Regions from separate parts of the Homo sapiens genome. Here region 2 is linked to region 1. The links are contacts of gene promoters, found by promoter capture Hi-C in human tissues and cell types (Jung and others, 2019). All regions are on one chromosome and are shown on one strand. The core of a region is centred on a gene start or on the middle of the fragment in contact, and the rest is flanking DNA. Distances in the headings are between cores, read along the strand shown.

Region 1 (5,536 bases), core at 1-2,500:
CATCCAACTCTCCTGGCCTACAGGAGGAACTTGTTTTCAGTGGTCAGGTAACGTGCCCAGGACTACACTGCTGTGCTGACAGGATCAGAATTCCAATCTTGGGTTTCCCCGAGTTTCCTGCCACCTGGCCCATGGGGATCAGGGCTGGAGGGAGAACGAGGATGGCTGAGGTTTAGGTGGCTTAAGGACCAGGAGACACGGGGAGGTGGTGACTTCCTGTTTCCCAACTGGGCAGACCACTGGTGGTGGCGGGCACAGCTGGAAGGAAACCAGGCTCGCCGAGCCACCGAAGCCCCAGCTTTCTCAACCAGGAAGCAAAGAACCTCCCCCACCTCACGCCGGGAGCCCTTTCTCTGAGAGGAGCTGGTTCCGAGCCGCTCTTCCAGGGAAATGGCCCGGCGGCGACAGAGCGGGAGGGAGGGGCCGCAGGCGCTGCGAGGACGCACAGCTTCCCAATGCGTGCCCCCGGCGGTTGGGAAGCCGCGCCGCGCAGACCAATCCGGCCCGAGGCGGAGGCCGGTTGGCTCCGGAACGCCTGGCCCGCGGGGCGGGCGGGGCAGCTGGGGAGGGAGGGAGAGGCGAGAGGCAGCTGGGGACAGGGCGGGGCGGCGGGGGCGGGGCGCCTGCCCGGAGGCCAAGCCCTCTCGGCCCCACCCCGCAGCAGCCCTGCCAGGGGCGCCGCCCCAGCCCCCCCCACGGCCGAACCCCGTGCCGGTTGGGGACCCTCCACGTGACTCGGTGATGCAGAACGGTTATGACCTTCAGCGTGTGTCTGTGAACGCAAGGGTCCCAGCAACAGTGCGGGTTTGCGCTCGGCCCTGCCCGTGGGTGCAGGGACGTGTGGGTGTGTGGGCATGTGTGGGTGTGTTGGGGAGGGTGCCCAGCGACATGTGACAAAGACGCCCGTCTCCGGGAGATGGTGAAGGGGCCCGCGAGCAGGCGCTTTGTCTGGCTGTCTGCAGAGTGAGGTTCGCGCCGCGGCGGCGGGCGCCCGTGCGGTGCAGGATGCCGGGGCGCCAGGATGGCCGGGGGCGCGCGCGCCTGTGCCAGGGTGAGTGCGCTGCGGCAGCGCCGGGGGACAGCGCGGAGGGCCCGCGCCGGCCCGGGCCTCGGGCGTGACTGGGCGCCACCCGTGGGCGCTGCAGCGGCCGCGTGTCCCCGTGACCTCAGGAGCCGGCCCGGGCCCGGGTGGATCCCCGCGCGCCCCTCCCCGTCCGCCCTCCACGTGCGTGTCCGCGGCGCGCGCGCCCGCCGGCGCGCACCCGCTCGCCTGTCGCCGCCGCCACCGCTAACCGCGCCGGGAAAAGGTGCCGGGAACCGAGCGAGCCGGGGCCGCGGGCCCGAGCGCCATGGGCCCGAGGGTGGGCGGCGGGCGGCCGGTCATCCCCGGGCCTCGTCCCCGCGGGAGAGCGGCCAGGAGTCGGCGGGGGCCGGCCGGGCTCGCAGGGAGGCCGGCCCGCGCCCCCTGAGCGACGGACACCAGGTGAGGGGGCCGCCGGGCGCAGCGCGGGGGCCGGCCAGGGAGGGGCCACGGACTCCACGGGAGGTTCGGGGGGCGCCTTCTCTGGCGGGGGAGGGTATGGCGGGGAGTGGGGAGGCGGCTGGCGATTCCTGGGGACGCCTGGGAAAGGAAGTTCCGGGACCCTCCCTGCTCTCGGTCCTCCTCCGCTTCCTGCCTCATGCCTCACCTTGTCCCCAGCGCCTGGACTCCCCCTTAACTGCTTGGGAAATGTGACCTTTGCTCTGGGGGGCCTGGCCCTGCAGGCCCCAACCTTCCCTCATCTCTGGCGGCCCTCTTGGGCCTCTGACCCAGCCCCTCCCCGGGCCAGGCTCACAGAAGCTGGCTTCTGGGACTGTCCTGGGCCCAAGTGGGCACCTGCGCCAGCCCCACCTGTGCCTGGGCTGTGGCCCCTTCCTACAGGGCGCTCACCATGGCCCCGCCGCTCCTGCTGCTGCTGCTGGCCAGTGGAGCGGCCGCCTGCCCGCTGCCCTGCGTCTGCCAGAACCTGTCCGAGTCGCTCAGCACCCTCTGTGCCCACCGAGGCCTGCTGTTTGTGCCGCCCAACGTGGACCGGCGCACAGTGGAGCTGCGGCTGGCTGACAACTTCATCCAGGCCCTGGGGCCCCCTGACTTCCGCAACATGACGGGACTGGTGGACCTGACACTGTCTCGCAATGCCATCACCCGCATTGGGGCCCGCGCCTTTGGGGACCTCGAGAGCCTGCGTTCCCTCCACCTTGACGGCAACAGGCTGGTGGAGCTGGGCACCGGGAGCCTCCGGGGCCCCGTCAATCTGCAGCACCTCATCCTCAGCGGCAACCAGCTGGGCCGCATCGCGCCGGGAGCCTTCGACGACTTCCTAGAGAGCCTGGAGGACCTGGACCTGTCCTACAACAACCTCCGGCAGGTGCCCTGGGCCGGCATCGGCGCCATGCCTGCCCTGCACACCCTCAACCTGGACCATAACCTTATTGACGCACTGCCCCCAGGCGCCTTCGCCCAGCTCGGTCAGCTCTCCCGCCTGGACCTCACCTCCAACCGCCTGGCCACGCTGGCTCCGGACCCGCTTTTCTCTCGTGGGCGTGATGCAGAGGCCTCTCCCGCCCCCCTGGTGCTGAGCTTTAGCGGGAACCCCCTGCACTGCAACTGTGAGCTGCTGTGGCTGCGGCGGCTGGCGCGGCCGGACGACCTGGAAACGTGCGCCTCCCCGCCCGGCCTGGCCGGCCGCTACTTCTGGGCAGTGCCCGAGGGCGAGTTCTCCTGTGAGCCGCCCCTCATTGCCCGCCACACGCAGCGCCTCTGGGTGCTGGAAGGCCAGCGGGCCACGCTGCGGTGCCGGGCCCTGGGTGACCCCGCGCCTACCATGCACTGGGTCGGTCCTGACGACCGGTTGGTTGGCAACTCCTCCCGAGCCCGGGCTTTCCCCAACGGGACCTTAGAGATTGGGGTGACCGGCGCTGGGGACGCTGGGGGCTACACCTGCATCGCCACCAACCCTGCTGGTGAGGCCACAGCCCGAGTAGAACTGCGGGTGCTGGCCTTGCCCCATGGTGGGAACAGCAGTGCCGAGGGGGGCCGCCCCGGGCCCTCGGACATCGCCGCCTCCGCTCGCACTGCTGCCGAGGGTGAGGGGACGCTGGAGTCTGAGCCAGCCGTGCAGGTGACGGAGGTGACCGCCACCTCAGGGCTGGTGAGCTGGGGTCCCGGGCGGCCAGCCGACCCAGTGTGGATGTTCCAAATCCAGTACAACAGCAGCGAAGATGAGACCCTCATCTACCGGTGAGGATGCGTGCCCCACACCCGGCTGCACTCCCGGCGCCCTTCCTCCGCCCTCTGCTCCCCACAAGGCTTTGCTTCCACCCCTCCTCTCTCTGGGGCTGACACCCCCTCCCCGACCATGGCTGCTGGACTCTTGGAGGAGCAGTGGCCTGGCCTGGCCTGGCTGCCTGAGGGGGCTGGAGCTCAAGGGGCGGCAGAAGGACCCCACCCCGAGATGTCCCAGGTGTCACTGAGCTGTGCAGGCCTCCCCGGCAGCAGGTGGCGGTTGGGTCTGTCTGAAGCACATGGCCCGCGCCCGCGTGTTATTTCTGCCTCTGCTGGTGCCATCCCCCCACCCCATTCCCCTCGCTTGCCTGCGTCCTGTGCCAGTGCACACACCCATCTCCTGGCCACACTCTCCAGCCTGTTCACCTTCCTGAGTGAACCCAAGAGCCCGAGTGGCCCCAGGGGGAGGGGTGTTTGGAGCTGGGAGCACGGGAGTGGGGAGGTGAGGATGGGGCTAGACCCCAGCCCCGGGCTCTGACCACCTGCCCTTGCCTGCAGGATTGTCCCAGCCTCCAGCCACCACTTCCTGCTGAAGCACCTCGTCCCCGGCGCTGACTATGACCTCTGCCTGCTGGCCTTGTCACCGGCCGCTGGGCCCTCTGACCTCACGGCCACCAGGCTGCTGGGCTGTGCCCATTTCTCCACGCTGCCGGCCTCGCCCCTGTGCCACGCCCTGCAGGCCCACGTGCTGGGCGGGACCCTGACCGTGGCCGTGGGGGGTGTGCTGGTGGCTGCCTTACTGGTCTTCACTGTGGCCTTGCTGGTTCGGGGCCGGGGGGCCGGAAATGGCCGCCTCCCCCTCAAGCTCAGCCACGTCCAGTCCCAGACCAATGGAGGCCCCAGCCCCACACCCAAGGCCCACCCGCCGCGGAGCCCCCCGCCCCGGCCGCAGCGCAGCTGCTCTCTGGACCTGGGAGATGCCGGGTGCTACGGTTATGCCAGGCGCCTGGGAGGAGCTTGGGCCCGACGGAGCCACTCTGTGCATGGGGGGCTGCTCGGGGCAGGGTGCCGGGGGGTAGGAGGCAGCGCCGAGCGGCTGGAAGAGAGTGTGGTGTGATGGACGGGCAGCTTCCTGTGTGCTCCAAGGGATGAGCCTCGTGGGGCAGAGGGCCCGGGGCCGCCGCCTGGCCTGGGAGTCCCTCCCTGGTTTTTATTCTCAGTACCTCAGGCTCCCCTGTGTACTTGGAGGGGCAGGGAGCCCTTTCCTCGGTTCTGGCCTCCAGACCAGGGTAAGGGCAGGCCCCTCCAACAGGTGCTCACAGCCACCGAGGCAGGGGCTGCAGCCACCCACTGGGAGTCTTGTTTTTATTTATAATAAAATTGTTGGGGACACCTCAGTGCTAGTCTCTGGTGTTGTCTGGCTAGGTCCCCCGAGACGGGAGGACAGGACACGGGCCGCTGGTGGCACACGGACAAGGGTGGGGCTACCAGGGCCGGTGGGGGCAGTCACAGCAGCCTGGGGCCTCCTGGCTTCCTGTCCACAGGGGCGGCCCAGGGCTGCGGCCAAGGGCTGTGCCTGGTGTCTTCTGACCTGCAAGAGCATGGGCTTGGGCAGGCGGCCTACCCTCGCCTGTAAGTGCAAAGAACGCCCCTTCCTGCCAGGTGGCGACAGGACGCCGTATCCAGTGTAAAGCCTGGGGAGCACGTGTGAGCGCCTTCCCCATGGCACTTCAGGGTCTGCGGGGCGGACACAGGACTGGACTAAGCAACAGGAGGAGGTGGGGGACGGTACAGCCCTCTGGGAGAACGGACCTGGGCTGAGCGTACAGTGAAAAGTCCTCATGGCTCCAGGTGCTGACAGCTGTGTCTGCCACCTCCCAGGGCATCTTGTGGACTGGTAAAACGCCATCCCAAAGGGACTGGAAGGGCAGGGAACCCCACTGCTCTGCCATCAGCCCGTGATCCTCTGGAAGGTTCCTGTCAGAACTGTGGGTCCGAGCAGGACCGCAGCTGCCAGCTCAGATGTGCTCTGGGCCTTCCTGGGAAGGCGGCCTTCGCCCTCCCTCGCTGCAGGGAGGCAGCCGGATGGGCACGAGCCCTGCTTTCTCTGCTAGGACCCCTGGCCAGGCCCGGGCAGCCTCCGACCTGGCCCAGCCCCTGCAGCCTCCTGAACTATCTGCTTCTAGGCACTGGCTGGGGGGCATGGGCAGACGTGGCCCTCAGCCCTGCAGAGGGTCAAGCTCCCCCAGGTGCTGTATGAAAACTCAGAAG
Region 2 (5,536 bases), core at 2,132-4,631, 250 kb before region 1:
TTTTTACTCCCTGTTCTGGGAAATTGGAGAGGCATTTCTTATAGAGTCCATTGCACAGTGCCATGCTTATGCTCAGTGATTAGTAATCTGCTGCTGCAAATCAAATGACTCCAAAGTTAGGAGTTTAAAACAACAAACATATACTGTCTCTGGGGCAGGAATTTGTGTGTGACTTAGCTGGGTGCCTGCAGCTCAGGGTCTCTCTCGGGGCTGCAGTCATCTCAGGGCCCCACGTGGGGAGAATCTGCTTCCAGGTTTGCTCATGTTGCTGTTGGCAGGCCCCAGGTCCTCCTTGGCTGTTGGCCAGAGACATCAGTTCTTTGCCACATGGGTCTCTCCCTAGGGCAGCTAACAACACGGCAGTTGGCTTCTCTCAGAGTGAATGAGCGAGAGAGAGAGAGATTGAGATTGAGAGAGGGCGTCCAAGACTCAAGCCACATTCTTTTTGTAACCTAATCTTAGAAGTGACACTAGGTCCAGCCCACACTCAAGGGAGGCACATCATAGAGGCCATTCGCCTCATGCAGCCTTGAAAGATGATGGGCAGGAAGTAGGCATTGAAGAGGGTAAGAGTGGGATTGGCAAGCCCAGCAAAAGAAACTGCCCGGGCAAAGCCCTCAAGGCATGGAATGGCAGGGAGTGTTTCTGAAGGGCAGGAGCCTGTCTTGTGACCTGTGTTTTCTTCCTGGGCCCCAGGTGGGGCAGGGAATCAGAAGGGGCTGGCATCAGCAGCTGTACCTCACCCAATCCCTTAACTTAGACAAGGAAGAACTGAGCAGGAGCTGACCAGCCAAGGCCACGGTGACTGGCAAGTTGCTGTTGGGTTTTAGCATCTGCTTTTCCCAGGTGGAAAAGAATTCCATGTGGGAATTTGCATTCAAGCCTGGTTGTCCCTTGCACATCTCCTAACTGATCTCTAAGCTCCCTTCTGTTCTCTCCTCACCCTGCTCCAGTCTTTACTTTTCATAGACTGCACTAGAAGGATTGTTCTGAAGCCTGGAGTAACCAGGCCATGCCCCTGCCTGAAACTTGTCTTGGCTCCCAGTGCCTGAGAGTACAAGCTGGGCCTAGCTTCTTGATGTGGACATTCAATACCCCACTCCCCCTGCCTATTGCCCCTGCCTGTGTGCTGAGGAAACAGCCTGGAAAGGCTGCCTTTCCCTGAACTCCTGCTGGGTCATGCCTCCAGCCACACTGTCCAGGCTGCCCCCTGCCTTGAGGCCGCTCCTCCAGCCGGGCACAGTGGCTCACGCCTGCAACCCTAGCACTTTGGGAGGCCGAGGCAGACGGATCACTTGAGTTCAGGAGTTCGAGACCAGGCTGGCCAATATGGTGAAACCCTGTCTCTACTAAAAATACAAAAATTAGGCCAGGTGCAATGGCTCATGCCTGTAATCCCAGCACTTTGGGAGGCTGAGGCGGATGGGTCACTTGAGGTCAGGAGTTTGAGATCAGCTTGACCAACATGGTGAAACCCTGTCTCTATTAAAAATACAAAAGTTGGGCCGGGCACAGTGGCTCATGCCTGTAATCCCAGCACTTTGGGAGGCCGAGGCGGGCAGATCACAAGGTCAGGAGATCGAGACCATCCTGGTTAACATTGTGAAACCCCGTCTCTACTAAAAATACAAAAAATTAGCCAGGCGTGGTGGCGGGCGCCTGTAGTCCCAGCTACTTGGGAGGTTGAGGCAGGAGAATAGCGTGAACCTGGGAGGCGGAGCTTGCAGTGAGCCGAGGTCGCGCCACTGCACTCCAGCCTGGGCGACAGAGCAAGACTCCATCTCAACAAAACAAAACAAAACAAAACAAAACAAAAGTTGGCCAGGTATGGTGGCGTGCTCTGTAGTCACAGCTACTCGGGAAGCTGAGACAGGAGAATTGCTTGAACCTGGGGGGTGGGGAGGTTGCAGTGAGCCCAGATCGCACCACTGCACTCCAGCCTGGGCAACAGAGTGAGACTCTGTCTCAATAAATAAATAAATAAATAAATAAATTAATTAATTAAAAGAAATACAAAAACTAGCCAGGCGTAGTGGCGCGTGCCTGTAATCTCAGCTACTTAGGAGGCTGAGGCAGGAGAATTGCTTGAACCCGGGAAGCAGAGACTGCAGTGAGCCGAGATCACACCATTGCATTCCAGCCTGGGCATTGCAATGAGACTTTGTATCAAAACAAAACAAAACAAGCAAAAAAAACCGCTCTTCAGGGCTCTGTATCCCCTCCCCCTTCTTGATCTTTCTACTGTTCAAATCTCCAACGCAGGGCGTAAAAAAAAGTACCAGGTGCAGGCAGCAGATATCCCTCTGGAAAACGAGATAAAGCAGAACTGCCACTTCTTCCTGCCCATCAGTTGGTGGCACAGTGAGATGCCTGGTTACTCAGCAGCAAGGTCATGGGAGCCCACCTGTACTGGCACAGGCACTTGTTTCTGCCCAAAATGTCAGGTTGGGGACAATTTATTTGCACAGATGTGGGTTTCTGTGGCTCACTAGTAAGGCCTTGTCACCCCAAAACACACCAACTGTTGTATTCACCCTGTGTGTCATCACCCCTAGTCTGTTCTGTATCTGGGCCCCCACCATGTTCTGAGTCCCTTGAGGATGGTGACCTGCATACTCCCTGCCATGTTGGGTAGTGTGTCTGACCTAGGAGGTGCTCATAGGTGTGTTATGACAATTTTTATTACCGTCAAAGGAGAAGGAGGGCAGAGCCAGCTTCGAGGGGCTAGGACAGGCCCTTTGCCCCTTGCATTTCCTTCTGTTCCTGGAATCTGGGAGTCAGGGAAATGACACTGGCTGCCTATGATGGTCAGGGAAGCCAAGCTTGGCCAACTTAAGCCTATAGGAATTGAAGACAGCCAAGGGCTCACAGAGCCATCAGGAGGCTGCACAACTGAGCTAACTGGAGGCTGAGAAGCAGAGCTGGGCAATTGCCTCGCCGGAAAAACAGTCTGATCCAATGGGAATGACTGCACAGGCAGGGGAAACTTCCACTGGCTCTTTTCAGCCCACTGTCATCCTGCCCAGGATTTCAGTTCCAGGGAGGGAGTGTTCAGATGGTCCGGGACTTCCTGGACCACTTTCCACTTCCAGACAGGGCCAAGAGGACCTTGCCTGCCCAGTCCTTGGGGAGCTCAGATCCTACGAGACTGGTACCCACAGGAGGAAATGGGTACTTTAGGGAAGCAGGAAGAGGCGTCGGAATCAGGAAATCAGAAGATAGCAGCTTGGCACCACGTGGCACACATCCCCTATACACACACTGGATCTCATTCCAGCACCGCGGAGACCTGGGCAATGTCCGTGCTGATGCTGACGGCCGCGCCATCTTCAGAATGGAGGATGAGCAGCTGAAGGTAAGGTGGAAAAGAAGGTGGGCACCCTTCCTAACAGGGTCCATCATCTGAAGCTGTCGTCTCCCCTCAAAGGTGTGGGATGTGATTGGCCGCAGCCTGATTATTGATGAGGGAGAAGATGACCTGGGCCGGGGAGGCCATCCCTTATCCAAGATCACAGGGAACTCCGGGGAGAGGTGAGTGGTGTCGGCCCCTGTAGGAGGCTGTGCTCTGCGGATGGTGCATGAGGAACCCAGGGGTGGGGGCCAAACAGGTACCCACCCCTGACCACACATTCTTCTGCAGGTTGGCCTGTGGCATCATTGCACGCTCCGCTGGCCTTTTCCAGAACCCCAAGCAGATCTGCTCTTGCGATGGCCTCACCATCTGGGAGGAGCGAGGCCGGCCCATCGCTGGCAAGGGCCGAAAGGAGTCAGCGCAGCCCCCTGCCCACCTTTGAGCAGGACCTCACCTTGGCTCTGTTGCTGTCCTCCAGGGCGAGCACTTTCCACTTCCAGAGGGGGCCAGAGGGACTTTGCCTGCCCAGTCTTTGGAGAGCTCAGTACAGGGCAGGAGCTGCTGTGGTGTTCCCTTGGCAAATGAAAGTTTTATTTTCGTTTGGGACTTGGTGTTTTGTGCTTGTCTCCATGCCCCTTATGGGCTTGGTGAACATAGCTCTGCTTCTTTCCTTTGTATCAGGGCCACCCCTTAGCATTGGAGCCAAACAAACCTGAATTCAAACCTACACACACACTGAAGTCCCCATCTTCCTCCTTGGAGCCATAATGAAGAGCCACTACAGTCAAATTTCTGTTTGTGGCCTCCCCCAACCCCTCACTATGGCTGATTGGAACCAAAATGGACACCTGACCCATGGTGGCCCATGCTTTCCCTGAGAAATCAGGGCAGATCCAGCTTTAGTTTTTTCCTGTGGTTGGACCCATAACATGGGAATATGGGAAGTTTTGGTGGCCCTCTTCTCCCTGCCTTATTGACTGAGCATCAGAAAAAGCCAGTCGGCTAAGGAGGAAAAATGAGGCAGGGAGAATCTAAGAGTTGCTGGAGAATCCCAGTCACTCTGGAGTCCCCTCTCTGAGCCTTTCGTGAGGCCAGCTGCCTCCTGCCTGGGATTGAAGAGATGCTCCCGAATCCTCCTAATGCATCCCCCTGTTAAAATAATCTGGCTTGAGGCTGGGCACGGTAGCTCACACCTGTAATCCCAGCACTTCGGAAGGCCAAGGCGGGAGGATCTCTTGAGCCCAGGAGTTTGAGACCAGCTGGGGGAACAGAGTAAGACCCTGTCTCTACAAAAAAAAAAAATTTAATTAGCTGGGTGTGATGGTGCATGCTTGTGGTCCCAGCTATTTGGGAGGCTGAGGTGGGAGGATTGCTTCAGCCTGGGAGGTTGAGGCTGCAGTGAACCATGATCACGCCACTGCATTCCAGCCTGGGCAACAGAGCAAGACTCCATCTCAAAAAAAAAACAAAACCAAAAACAAACAAACAAAAATCTGACTTTATTCCTTTCAGTCATAAGTAAAAATTATCAATTAACATAAGTGAAGTGCTTGGCACACAGCCTGTCATATAAAGTTAAGGGAGCAGCAGCTATGATTCTGAGGCTGCGTGGGACCCTCGGAGGCAGCCCTAGCCAAGCTCCCCTTTCCTATGGTTGGATGAGCTGCTAACCAGGGTACAGTTTGTGGGGCCTCGGGTTCAGAGCCTCCCTACTCGTCTATTATTTCCCTGTACCCCCATCCCCATGGGGTGCCTTGCTCATCCTTGACAAAGCTGCTTTTATGACAGGGTAAGCTGGCAGACTACAAACTTTGCCCCAAGCTGGCAGACTACAAACGTTGTCCCTACACTGCCTGCTTGGAACTGGGTGGGTGGTTTCGCAGTTAGTTGTCCTTGGCTTCGAGGCAGAGCCCCTGGCTCGGATCCCATTCCCCAGTCCCTGTCTGTTTTCCCTTTCAAGGCTGTGGGTGGGTTCCACCTCTAGCCCCAACCCTTGGACTCTGCTCTTTCTTGCCAAACCTATGCTGGTTCTTTTCCAGCTCCCTGTGGTTGCTGGGAGCCAAACCCTTTTAAGCCCAGACTCAGGCTGTCTTTCCCCACTTCCAAGTCATTGCAGAAATTCATCCTGGATTCTGCCCACAGCTAACCCCTGACATCCTCTCACCTCCATTCTGGAATGATGCC

The links. The method cuts DNA at HindIII sites, captures the fragments that hold promoters and counts their contacts. A contact is called where the count stands out against the background at its distance.
Region 2: a contact is called between a fragment that was not itself captured here and the fragment with the promoter of LRFN4 in region 1, in 1 of the 25 tissues and cell types used here (dorsolateral prefrontal cortex).

What each region holds. Positions count from the first base shown.
Region 1 is chr11:66,855,814-66,861,349 of GRCh38, forward strand. LRFN4 (leucine rich repeat and fibronectin type III domain containing 4) reads left to right here and starts at 1,251. Exons shown (of 2, transcript NM_024036.5): 1 at 1,251-3,280; 2 at 3,824-4,662. The coding sequence starts at 1,932. The coding sequence ends at 4,382. All of the region lies in intron 12 of PC (pyruvate carboxylase), which reads right to left. RefSeq lists silencers at 337-866, 1,027-1,136. The HindIII fragment of the contact is 20,544 bases long and covers 1-5,536 here.
Region 2 is chr11:66,602,062-66,607,597 of GRCh38, forward strand. It overlaps CCS (copper chaperone for superoxide dismutase), which reads left to right. Exons shown (of 8, transcript NM_005125.2): 6 at 3,278-3,355; 7 at 3,428-3,531; 8 at 3,641-3,958. The coding sequence ends at 3,794. Among named protein-coding and RNA genes, the nearest start is that of CCS, 12 kb to the left of the region's middle. The HindIII fragment of the contact is 5,698 bases long and covers 533-5,536 here.